Regions from separate parts of the Homo sapiens genome. Here region 2 is linked to region 1. The links are contacts of gene promoters, found by promoter capture Hi-C in human tissues and cell types (Jung and others, 2019). All regions are on one chromosome and are shown on one strand. The core of a region is centred on a gene start or on the middle of the fragment in contact, and the rest is flanking DNA. Distances in the headings are between cores, read along the strand shown. Region 1 holds the start of CER1 (cerberus 1, DAN family BMP antagonist). Region 2 overlaps LOC124902121 (a long non-coding RNA gene).

Evidence for each region. Contacts are between HindIII fragments. The study calls those that stand out against the background at their distance.
Region 2: a fragment that was not itself captured here is called in contact with the fragment with the promoter of CER1 in region 1 in 4 of the 25 tissues and cell types used here (IMR-90 fibroblasts, mesenchymal stem cells, mesendoderm cells and 1 more).

What each region holds. Positions count from the first base shown.
Region 1 is chr9:14,720,644-14,726,473 of GRCh38, forward strand. CER1 (cerberus 1, DAN family BMP antagonist) reads right to left here and starts at 2,090. Exons shown (of 2, transcript NM_005454.3): 1 at 1,523-2,090. The coding sequence starts at 2,029. RefSeq lists enhancers at 1,238-2,177, 2,178-3,115. The HindIII fragment of the contact is 6,126 bases long and covers 949-5,830 here.
Region 2 is chr9:14,475,746-14,481,575 of GRCh38, forward strand. It overlaps LOC124902121 (a long non-coding RNA gene), which reads right to left. Exons shown (of 2, transcript XR_007061420.1): 2 at 4,989-5,200. It also overlaps a transcript of NFIB not described here. Among named protein-coding and RNA genes, the nearest start is that of TRH-GTG1-6, 45 kb to the left of the region's middle. The HindIII fragment of the contact is 4,618 bases long and covers 720-5,337 here.

The DNA.
Region 1 (5,830 bases), core at 840-3,339:
TATTCGTGCAAAACCTTAAGCAATTTTGTCTAATTGGATGTGAGCGATTGAAAAATTCTAATGGTAATTATCTTACATAAGTAATGTGCCTTACTTTTTTATTCCTCACAGGGCTTTGTGCATAGTAGGCTCCCAATACATATTTGTTACATTGATCGTAGAATAGATCAGAACATTCTAGGTTTAATTCTATCCTATTCTGCAAGACCTGTAGTACATTCAAGTCTATGAAGTTGTATGCAAGCAGAGTTACAATGCATATGCCTGCAAATCATTGTATATTACATCACCTTTACCTCTCATAACTCCAAGCACCTAGCTTTATATGCCTTTCAAAATATGTAAGAGTCAAACATCTTAGTTTTAATTTAATTAGCAATAGAATTCAAAAGAAGAATTTCAAAAGAAATTTGATTGCCTGATTCTTAGGGGTAATTTTCTAATTGCACATGGCCAACAGAGTAGTCATTATTATTTGATAATTGACTTGCCATTGCTACATATCCTTGCCTTTTCAGGCAGAATACTTAACTGCCTTGAACAGTCAATTGCCCTATTCTATTGCTTGCTTAATTGGGTAGCATTACTCGACTATAAAATTTTACTCTACCCTGCATGTTTTTGGTTCAATATCTTCATGTTTAAGGACCTAATGCAAGTTCTCAATTTTAATTTAACATTTGGAATGTAGATATTGCCAGAGGAAGTAGACAGTAGGATGTCCCTTTGTCTTAATAGCATGGAATTGATCATAATAACTACAAATCAGCCAACACAACATGAATCAGGAGAAAGGTACTTCTAAGGGGAGGAGATATGATCTCACATCAAGATTGATTTTTTAAAAAGCTCATATGAGAAAATAAGTGAAAGAAAATCACTTTTTTGCTATCATAATACTAGAAATGATATGACAACTTTTGCCTGAGAACCTCAACGTACTTTGAGGTTGTGGGATAGCTTTAGCAAGCTATTAAAGAAGTCCCTCATAAACCTATAAAGTAATTAAGTATGGACTATGGGGATTAAGACCATCGTAAATGGATATGAGAGTATTTGGGAAGGAGTCCAATGCACCCCACTTTATCAACAAATGGAGTTGACCTGCTCATCCACATATTAATAGAGTGCAGAAAGATAGCTACAGAGGAGTTCTGGTGATTACTCTAAATTCTCAGTTTCCTAACTGAGGGTACAGTCTGACTTATATCTCTGAGTAGATCACCTCCAATGCAAAAATAAATAAATAAAACAGAGCTCTGTGTCTTCAGTGTGAATGAATGATTACTGATATTGACAGTATCATCATATCATTCTTGCAGCATTTCCACAATGCCAAGAAAAAATGGAAAGGCCAGAAGGAAACTTAATCTTTGCCAAATCCTATGATGAATGCCCAAGGACCAAATCTGTAGTTAAGCTAGAGTCAGGCTCCTGACAGCCTTTTCCCCTACTCTCCATCCATCCCAGCTGTCCACTACCACCTGCAAACTCTTACCTGCTCTCCCCCCAGAACACATACCTGGCTGAAGGGCACTGTCCTGCAGGTCTCCCAATGTACTTCATGGCTTTTGATGGGCAAGATGACCCCCTGAGAAGCCGGAGTTTTTCTGAACATGAAGTGGTGCCAGAATTTCTTGGCTTCTTCCCGAAGAGGAGATTTCTCCATTTTCATTCCATCTATCGGCTGGATGAGGGACTGGGTCCCAGGTGGGAAGGGCTCACTATCTGAGTCCCTGGATGGATGCATTTCTCTCTCAGGCTTCTTCCAGAACCTGCCAAATCTGGACAGCATCTTCTCTCTCTGCCTCTGGCCTTCCCCTGCAGGGCTGGTGGCTACAAGGTGTGGCACTGCGACAAACAGATCTGGCTTCTCCTCAGCTTCCTCATGGTTGCCTGTGGGAAGCTCTCTTTGATTCCTTGGCAGGAGTACGGGGGAAAGAGAACTCTGATTCTGGCGGCCATCCTGGTGCCGTGTGGTCTTTCCTAGAGGCAGGAGTACCAGCAGCTGAAATAAGAGGAGATGCATGCTGTCAGGGGCCCAAGCTTCTTTTGTAAATGATGAGGCCCAAAGGAGAGGCTCATTCTCTGCAGGACTGGGAAAAAGGAAATCGTATATATAGATACCTGCCTGGCGGGATGGGAAGGCAGGTGGTCAGTAGCCAGGCAGAATAAACACATTTATTGTTTGCTTGAATTATGTAGTGCTAATGGCCTCCTGCCGTCACTTTGGTTTTGTGTATTTTAAAAGGCCCCAGTGAAAGCCTGGGACCCAGGGGGTAATTAGCTAAGAGTTTAGCTATGTCTGGGGCTTAAAGAGCAGTATTAGCAAAGACAACACATTCTTTGCCTAAATTTCCCATGGCTGTTTTCAGAAGAAGGACTAGAGTCAGCTCACATTTGCTGTGCATCTGCCTTGTGCTGGAATAGAATAGACAAGACATGTTGCTGTAAGAGAAGTTTTTGGATAAAAATTAAAGGCATACATTTAGAAAAAGCCCAGGCCTTTAGGAAGGCTATTCACACACACACACACACACACACACACACACACACACACACACACACGAAGAAGTATATCAAAGTTGTAAGGAGAAGAAAGGAAGAGCTAGAAGGATGTTAATTTTTTTGAGCAAGGGACATATTGTTTCTTACTTACATGCAAATTGGGGTTATTGATTTTTGCACAGTAACTGAGTAAAGGGAATATGTTTTCCTTTCCACACGTAGAAACTCACAATTCCCAAGTTAATCCTCTCACATTAAGAATCAATTAATGGGTGCTAAATTTCACAACTGGTCAGTCATCAGATAAACTCTTCCAATTGTTCACATGTTCCTCAACAGGATACCACGTAATAGACTGACAGCTCATCAGTCTTCAATGAGGATAGGGAAATGTCTCCCTCCAGCCATCCTATTGATTTTTTTTTCCCTTTGAACAAAGAGCCAGACATGAGAACGTGGATTCTAAGAACCAGGTTTGATAACTTTGTGTGTGACGCTGGCTAGTCAGTTTCTTACCTTATTGAATCCACATCATCTCCCCTTGTTTTACACTAATTGATGGCCAGGCTAAATAAAGATTGACACAAATAAGAGTCTTCGGGGATCAAAGGAAAAATTGAAAAATAACTATCATTCAAAACTATCATGAATCAGCCTAGGATACGAAAAAGAAACACGTCCAGAAAACTGAAACCCCAGAATAGAGTCCGATCAGCCTACCACATGATTCAAACAGTATTTCCACTGGGAAGCAATGCAATATCTGCTTTTATTTCTCCCCTTTTAATTCAATCACTATATTCCTTGCTTTCAATAACACAAATAGTCCTGGAACATGTTCCCCCTTTTTTGTCAATACTGATTAAACTTTCTTTCCAAGAAGTGACCCACTGGAGTCTGTTTTCCAGGCATTTCTGTTCTTCTTGATAGCCATGCCTGATTTCTATGAAATAAAGCCTTAAGTAAGTCCCTTTACCCATGATAATGAGCTATTTTTAACATGGACCATCACTTTACCAGAATGCCATGAGTGGAGATATATTGTACTTGTACCAAATATCTATGGAACGTGTGCTAGTATTAATGAAAGGTGCTGTTGATATATAATAAATAAGCATGTGTATTTGCCATTGTTTTTTTTTATTTTAGGAAAAGGGTTCTGCTCTGTTGCCCAGTCTGGAGTGCAGTGGTGCAATCATAGCACTCTGTAACCTCAAACTCCTAGGCTCAAGCAAGCCTCCTGAGTAGCTGGGACTACAGGCACACTACCACACCTGGCTATTTAAAATTTTGTGTTGTTGTTGAAACAGAGCCTCACTCTGTTGCCCAAGCTGCTCTGAAACTCTTAGCCTTGAGCCACCATCTTGCCTCTGCCTCCCAAAGTGCTGGGATTACAGGCGTGAGCCACCATGCTATGTCAACATCTTTTTTTTTTTAATTGACTGCTACTTGAATTTCTTAATTCCCCTCAGCCATCCAATGCTATACGCTTTCCAGAGCTAGTCACTAGGCCTCCTGGTATAATATGGTGTGGAAGCCAGCTGTGATACCTTTCCTGAATCCTTTTAACTGTTACTTTTCAGTAACTGAAATTCCATTGTTATCAATCAGAGTATCTACTATTTCCCAAAACTAAAGACAATCTCAGAAATTCTATCTCGGGTCTCAGTTTGCTTGGCTCTGGAATTACTGAACATGAGATACAGTTGAGATAATTCCTGTTGAACTGCAATGTGTAGAAGACTCACTTTGTGTGTTAAGAATCATATTAGATACTGGTAGATAATTGAAAAATGAGTAAAACTTTGTCCCTGCCCTCAAGTAGGTTAGATAGTCTAGTGGGATTTCTTATGCATCATCTAACTTTATTGTATAAAATCATCTATAGGGATGTCAGTTATCCATTTTTCACTTTCCTTTAGTCCTAAACTTCCCTTCCTCTGATCCTAATTTGGGGCTTATAAGTGCCATTTAAAAATCACTCACAGAGAATATCCTTTTGCTGTTCTGTCACTTCTTTTGAGAAAATGTGCAAATATCTTGAAATATTCTCCCTACTCCCATTAGTAAATACTATCCGTGAAAAGTAAATCTAGCAAAGCCAAGCCTTCTGTGATGAGAACTATGAAACAAGCCTATCTCCAACCTCTGCCTTTTTCAGCTAAAGGCAATGACTATCACCTTTCACTATCGTGTCCATTCACCAATTCTAAAGCCATTGATACACTGTGTGTGTATAATTATGTGTGTATAATTATGTATGTATAACATGTAATATATGTATAATGTAATACATTATAATCTCTTAAGAAAATAAGTGAAGATTTTGTAGCTTTCAGCAAAAATATGCTGCCTCTGTTGGTCTTCAGTTGATACAGGCATCTAGTTACCTCCCAATTTGGATGAACCAAATGGAAATGGAAGTAGGTCTGCAGGAGGTCTCCAGACCCAGTAGGAAGCTTTCATGAGGAGACAGCATCGCCAATTATTAGTGCACTTAGTACCAAATGCCACAGTGAAGGGTGAGCCTGAGTTCATGTGAGTGAGCCCAAGCCTCCTAAGTCCACTTCCTGGGCCAACCCTAGACATGCATGAGAACCAGAGGGGCCAATCCCAGAATCCATTCATTTCCATTTACAGTTCAGGCTTTCAGCAGAATCTGACTGTTTTCAACTTGACTTGGGTTTCTTAGGCACTAAGATGTCTTCAGGAACTCTAAAGACCTCGAGAAGATACTTAAATAAAAAATGTTTTCATATGCTGGTGACACTTTTATAAAATGGACAAGAAAAGAGGCCCATGAGACCCAGCCGCTCAAGACACGTTGAGGTGGTTTGTCTCCTTTTCAGACCTCCCCAGTGTGCCTATGAGAGGACAGCAACAGCTACATTTTCTGTCCCTCTTACAGACTCTCAGAAGACAGTTAAAAAGAAGCCCAGTGCTCTCCAAGGGCGAACAGAGAGACTAAGTTCTTCCCTAAAAACCTATCTTAAATCAACAAAAGGTGAGAGGCAGTGTTGAGGTGGGGGGTGGACATTACAGTTAAACAGGACAACTGAGAGCTGGAAAAGGACATTTGGGTTGAAGGATTCAGGAGAGAAATCTGACTGGGGAGCATGCCACTGCCTCATCACTACCTCTCTTTTCAAAATACAGAATAGCAATCATGTCATGGCAGGTTAGATTATTTTTTTTTTAACTCAGAAGAAAACAGGACCTTTTTTCTTATTTTCCAAGGAACAAGGAAAAGGGAAAATTAGGATATATGATTTCCCCTTAAACTTTTAAATAAACAATTTACTTAATTATTCAAAATGTACAC
Region 2 (5,830 bases), core at 1,779-4,278, 240 kb before region 1:
TTCCAAAGACCTCTTCTCATTCTTTTTTGGCAAAATGATACAATTTCTCACAAAATTTATGGTTTTTACCTCACCATCCCCTTTACCATCTCCATGCCTAAATAACATAATTAGCGGGCTCCTTTTCTTCAGCTACAATACCACTGGGGAAAGGAATTCAATTTGGTAGATCTTCCCCCACTTTACTCACACTAACTCCCTGAGTTCCAAAGGACCTGGACCATAAAAAATAAATTTGACAATAAAAAAATTGGACTTAACAAATCCAAACTCAGAAAATACATTCCTGGACTTGTCAGAACAATAAGTCAATGCCACATGTCAATAGGAGGCAAATTTGAAACAGACAGAAAAGTGAAATCAATAGTCTATCTGTGAGAATTCTAACTCTACTCCCTAAACCAAATATTAGAAGTTCAAAAGGAAAAATATTTTTTTTTCTGATTGATTTGCAAATGACAAAGATAAGGTCGATTTCCTAGAGTTTTTCTAAGCTTTTTGTTTTTTTTTTTTTTCACCTGGGAAGATTAAATGGGAAAAACACTCAATTTTAGTTTATCTAAAAAAATGTAAAAACAGCTCAATTTTTAATTTATTTGTGCCTGTCAGATAATGGGGAGTACAGATGATGCCCAACTGAAGCATCTTGACTCACCTTCTCAAACTTGGACAGTGATGTGAGCCAGATCAGTGTTCATGCTCAGGCCTTGATTGACTTGTCAGCCTCTCATGCTTTCCATTAATAAGCTGTATTAATAGAGTATGTGGTAGGATATAAAATCCCCATACACTATTCTGTATAGTCCTTTGGCTACTTTCTAGATGCTTTTTATTGCTTCAGGATTATTTCTCCTTGTAAGATCATCACGCAAAATTCCTGACTTCTTTCTTAATATTAACATTACAAGGGAATTTAGTCATCTGTACAAACATTGAGAAGTTAAGCTTTCAAATAAAAAAACCAACAACCAACCAAAAGACAGCAAGAAAACCCGGTAATCTCTGAGACTAAAACCCTGGGGTGAGATAGGTGCCCACAATCTCTTCAATTGTTGAAAGACCAGGACCATTTCTCAGACTTAAACCTGGAATGTTCTTAGAAGAAATGAAAATGTTTCACATTCAGAATGATAGGAAGAATAAATATTTGTTAAAAATAGCATGTTTCATGGATTATAGCTCATAATGTTTGAGCTGATAAAGACTAAAGCTACTTCTTATTATATAAAGAATTTGAATCTCTTAGTACTTTAAATAAATACCAGAATATATATGATTTCTTTGCTTCTAGGAATACTTGTAATTGTTAAGTGCTCATCTTGAGTTCAATGAAAAGGCAGAGGATGTTTAAAATTTCTTAAAATAATAGCATCTAGCTGCAACCAGTTCCCCATATGACATTCCATTCTGCCTGAGGCAGTGTGTAGGGGATAGCATTCCATAAAGGTGTGGCATTAGGAGAAGTGACTGCTTACCAAGTATGGGACAGCATTTTCTTTCTTTGATTACAAAATAACATATGCCTATGATTAAAAAAAGAAAATAATAAAGTAGTATATATAAAGTGAAAATTAAAAGTCCCCCTCTGAAGTGACGGTAGGTATTCCAAATCTTTTTCTGGGTATATATAAGTGAATGTATATCTAAATAACAAAATGTCACCTATTCAGATTTCTCAATATCAGAACCATCCAAATAATGAGATTGGCCTAAAAGGATTTTTTTGAAATGCTTATCCATTTAAACTATCATGCCGAGTAATAATTGAGGAGTAATTCCTCATGGTATGTGGCATATGGTGGGATGTGCTGGTTGGTTGCCATGGAGATTCATTTGGTGGTATATTGCGAAGTGAGGTTGGTGGCTGTTCTGGTAATGCATGAGTTGGGCTGGTTCAGAGTTATTTCTATGTTGTAAAAGCAATAAAGTTTAAAGTACTGAAATGAAAGTATACAAATACATTACACATCCCATTCTTACTTCATAATCCATATAATGGAAAGTGGAGAACGTATTCAGAAGATGTATAGATTGGATTAAGGTTTTGTTTTGTTGTTATCATTGGGTTCTTTTGTAGGTAGAATATCTAGATTCGTTAATCTAGCCACATTGCAAGCATTTTGGCAAAAAATAGTTCTTCTACTGTATTTGTAATCCTGATGTTGGCTGATGTCTTCCAGACCCATAAGATCTAGATGAACAGCTTGAACCACCCCACCCCCCATTCTATGCCCTGAGGAAATCTAAGGTTCTCCTCAAGATTTCTACATATTTTCAAAGATTTGATGTGCTTCCAAAGCCAAGAAAGGCTCCCTATTCTCTGGCTGCTGTCTCTGTTCTGCATTGTTGACTTATATGGTCAACTTGGCCCCTTCCTGGATTTAGGCATGCACACACACCTACATATTCACACAAAGCATTAGTGACTTTAGTGACGATTTGAGGATTATTGGCCAGACTTCCTACTAGGAAGCACACAGCAAGCTATTTAAAATCACTCATTAACGACTTCACTTCTTAAGTCTTTTCCTCCATCTTGCTTCAGGGAGAGCTACACTTGCTTTTGCCTCAGATGCTGCTAGCCCCTCACCTTCTCTCTCTCTCCTCTCCTTATCTTTTCTGCTGTCATCTCCTTCCTTCAAACATACAGAACAGGTTAGACTTCTTTACTTCCTTCTGCAATAGCTGCATCTCCAAACATATTAAAGTACTGAGTAGAACACCATTTAACAGAGTCTACCCTAAAGAGATCTTGTATAAAAATGGGAAAAATTTATTACATTTATATAGAAATCACTTGGGTATTGTTATATTTTACAAAATGGGACAATATAATACATATTATTACGCAATTTGCTTTTTCAATCTCTCATCAGCATATCATGAATAACATTTCAGGGAACTTAAATCAACCTTACTCTTTTTAATGGCTGAGTATTACTCCATAGTGTATTATATTTAGGAATCCCCTCTATCAGTATATATTTAGCATTTCTCTACAATTTTTCACTCTTATAATGATGTAATGAATATCCTTGCACATGCATATTTTCACATTGCTATGAGTGATTGCTGCAGGAAAAGCCCTAGAAGTGGAATTATGGTCAAGACATAAGCATATTTAAAATTTTGATAGACTCTCTCAAATTGCTCACAAAATAGCATGTGTATTCATTCCCATCACCAGGGTGCACACTCACAAAGGATATTTGTAAAGCCTTTTAGAACAACTTTAAACAGTTGCTGGCATATTACATCATCCTTGCAGATGTTAAATAGTTGGGATTAGACCAAGAAATTATTTGTAAACACTGCCACCTAAACCCACTGCAAATCTACATGACAGGGAAAAAATATTGGAAATAAAACTAAATAGAGATCCCAGGTCCCTCACCCAGTGAATAAAAGAGAATCTAAGTCTAGTTAGAATTTTAGTAGGAAGCTAATCTTACAGACAATCACTGAGGAAAGGCACAGAAAAGCACCCTTGTGGGGGATTGCAGGGGGCTCTGGGAGTGCATGTAGATACCAGCAAGTAGCAGTGACATCATCTTCTTCTTTATATGGGAAACACCCTCATGGTACTGAAACCCATACTAGCAGACTTCCAAATGAAACTTCTTCGGAGAAACAGCTGTGGGTTTCACAGAGGGCCATCCTTCAATCTACAGGCTTGGGTATGGTGGAGCTTTTGGCCACATTGCTTCTGACAATCTGTCCATGTCCCCAGCCCTGAGGCTTAATGCTAGAAGCTACAGCCTACCTCATACACAGGACAGTTCCTTGCACATGTTGGCAAAGTTTCTAGGGTAAAGATGTTACCACTGAGTACTATTTGGGGAATGGAAACAGGAGATCTGAGATCTGGCTCAGATACTGCCCCTCACTCATGTTTTGTCCTTAGGTCAACTGTCATGTCTCACTTTCTTCATTTGTAAATTGGGTATTACAAAGGCTTCGCATACCTTCCAAGTAAAGATCATGTGCATTCACACATATTAAGGCAGTCTGTAGCACAAATTGGGTTTCAAATGTAAGGCTTTGTTAATAAAGAAGGTTCTCTTACAGCTCTTTGTAAACACTACGGGAAACAAACAAACCAACAAAACCCATTTCCAACAAATCAAAAGAAAAAGAGATCTGAAATTAGATAGCAGTGATGGGTTGCACAACCTTGTGAATATACTGAAAATCCCTGGTTGGAAAAAAAGAAAGAAGACAGGAAGGAAGGAAGAAGGAGAAGGAGGCAGGGAGGGAGGGAGGAAGGGAAAGAGACAGAAAGGTTTTTTTTTGTTTTGTTTTGTTTTTTGTTTTTTTTAATTGCAGAGATAATCAAAGGTGTAGGGAGGGAACTAACTTCCTTGGAGCATATTTTATAAGTCAGGCCCTCTTCAATTTTTCAGATATGGGGTCTTTATTTCATCTCCCCATAATTTGAGATGTAGAAATTATTGCCCAGATTTTTTGGGAAAATGAGAGTTTCAGTACCTTGACCAGGTCATAGGGCAATTACCTTGCCCAGAATTTGAATCTAACACTTCTTGACTCCTAGGCCTGAGCTTTTTAGCTGTACCATGCTGCTTCTTGACCCAGTCAAAAGCTCAAAGCAAGCATAAGATTTGCCAATGACATCAGACCCACATATTCAGACTCCCCTCAAGAGACTCTATGTGAAAGAACTTGAGAGATTTCCTTGATGCTAATCTCAAAAGTTAAGTGAAGTGCCCCTGACTGAGAAGGACAGTCCATTATGTGTCTAGTGTTTATACACTCATCATAGCCTTCCTGGGTCTATTTGTATTTTCATCCCAAAACCTTGTCTTGGGTTAATGAGCCCCACAAGTTCTCTAGCCAAACGTTTATTGGCTTCCAGCTTAACATAAGCTTGTACCTAATCAATGTAGCCGTTGAAACAAGTTCCACGCTGGCAAATTCCCAAAGCAAAAGGAGGTAAATGAGAACAACATGAATGAGACAAACAAGGGAGCCACCATGGAGGAACAGTTTAATCAACACTTAGAGAAACATGGCTGCCTCCTGCTGAGATGGAAATAAATCTGTTTTGTAGACATCCTGGTGCCTTTAACCATATCCTCTTCCTGTAGTATGAAGCCTTTCAGCTTTTGCATCACTCCTGCTGGAAATCACTTCATAACAAAAGAAGTTGAAAAATTTCAGATCCAGGCTTTAAAATTAAGTTCTAAAAAATAAAAACAGTAGCAGACACAGTTGGTGCCTTACCTATAACACCTTGGACATTTACTGTGAACCCCATGACTCACTGCCTGAGGATTTTGCCAGACTGGGGAGCATGACAGACCAGTGTGCAAAGCAAGTAGGAAGCGCTAGGCTGTAAACTCCCCCAGAAGTTGCTCTCATCCAATGGCTGGGTTCATGGATAACTAATTTGATGGACAAAGAGTCAAAAACTGAGTGTGTGTGTGTGTGTGTGTATATATATATATATATATATATATATATATATATGTAGCTTAGCATCCCAGCTTCATGGTTGGGGTAACTCAAGGTGTGTTTTGCTCTGTCCTCCAGAGTTCTTGAGCTCCATGTGCCTAGAGCAGCAACTGGTTTAATAAGGCTTCCTTTGTTGGCCTCCTTCCCTTCCCTGTCTCACTTCCCCATTTCCCTCCTGCTGTTTCCTGGGATTATCTCCCAAAAAAACCTCTTGCATTAAAATCTTTGTCTCTGAGTCTCCTTCAAGAGGAACCCAAAACAAGACAAGGGTGACTCACACTCTCTCGATGAAAATTGAAATGATCATTAAGAAAATAAGCTTTCGGCCTTTCTCTTTAGTCCTATTGACTTTGGATTT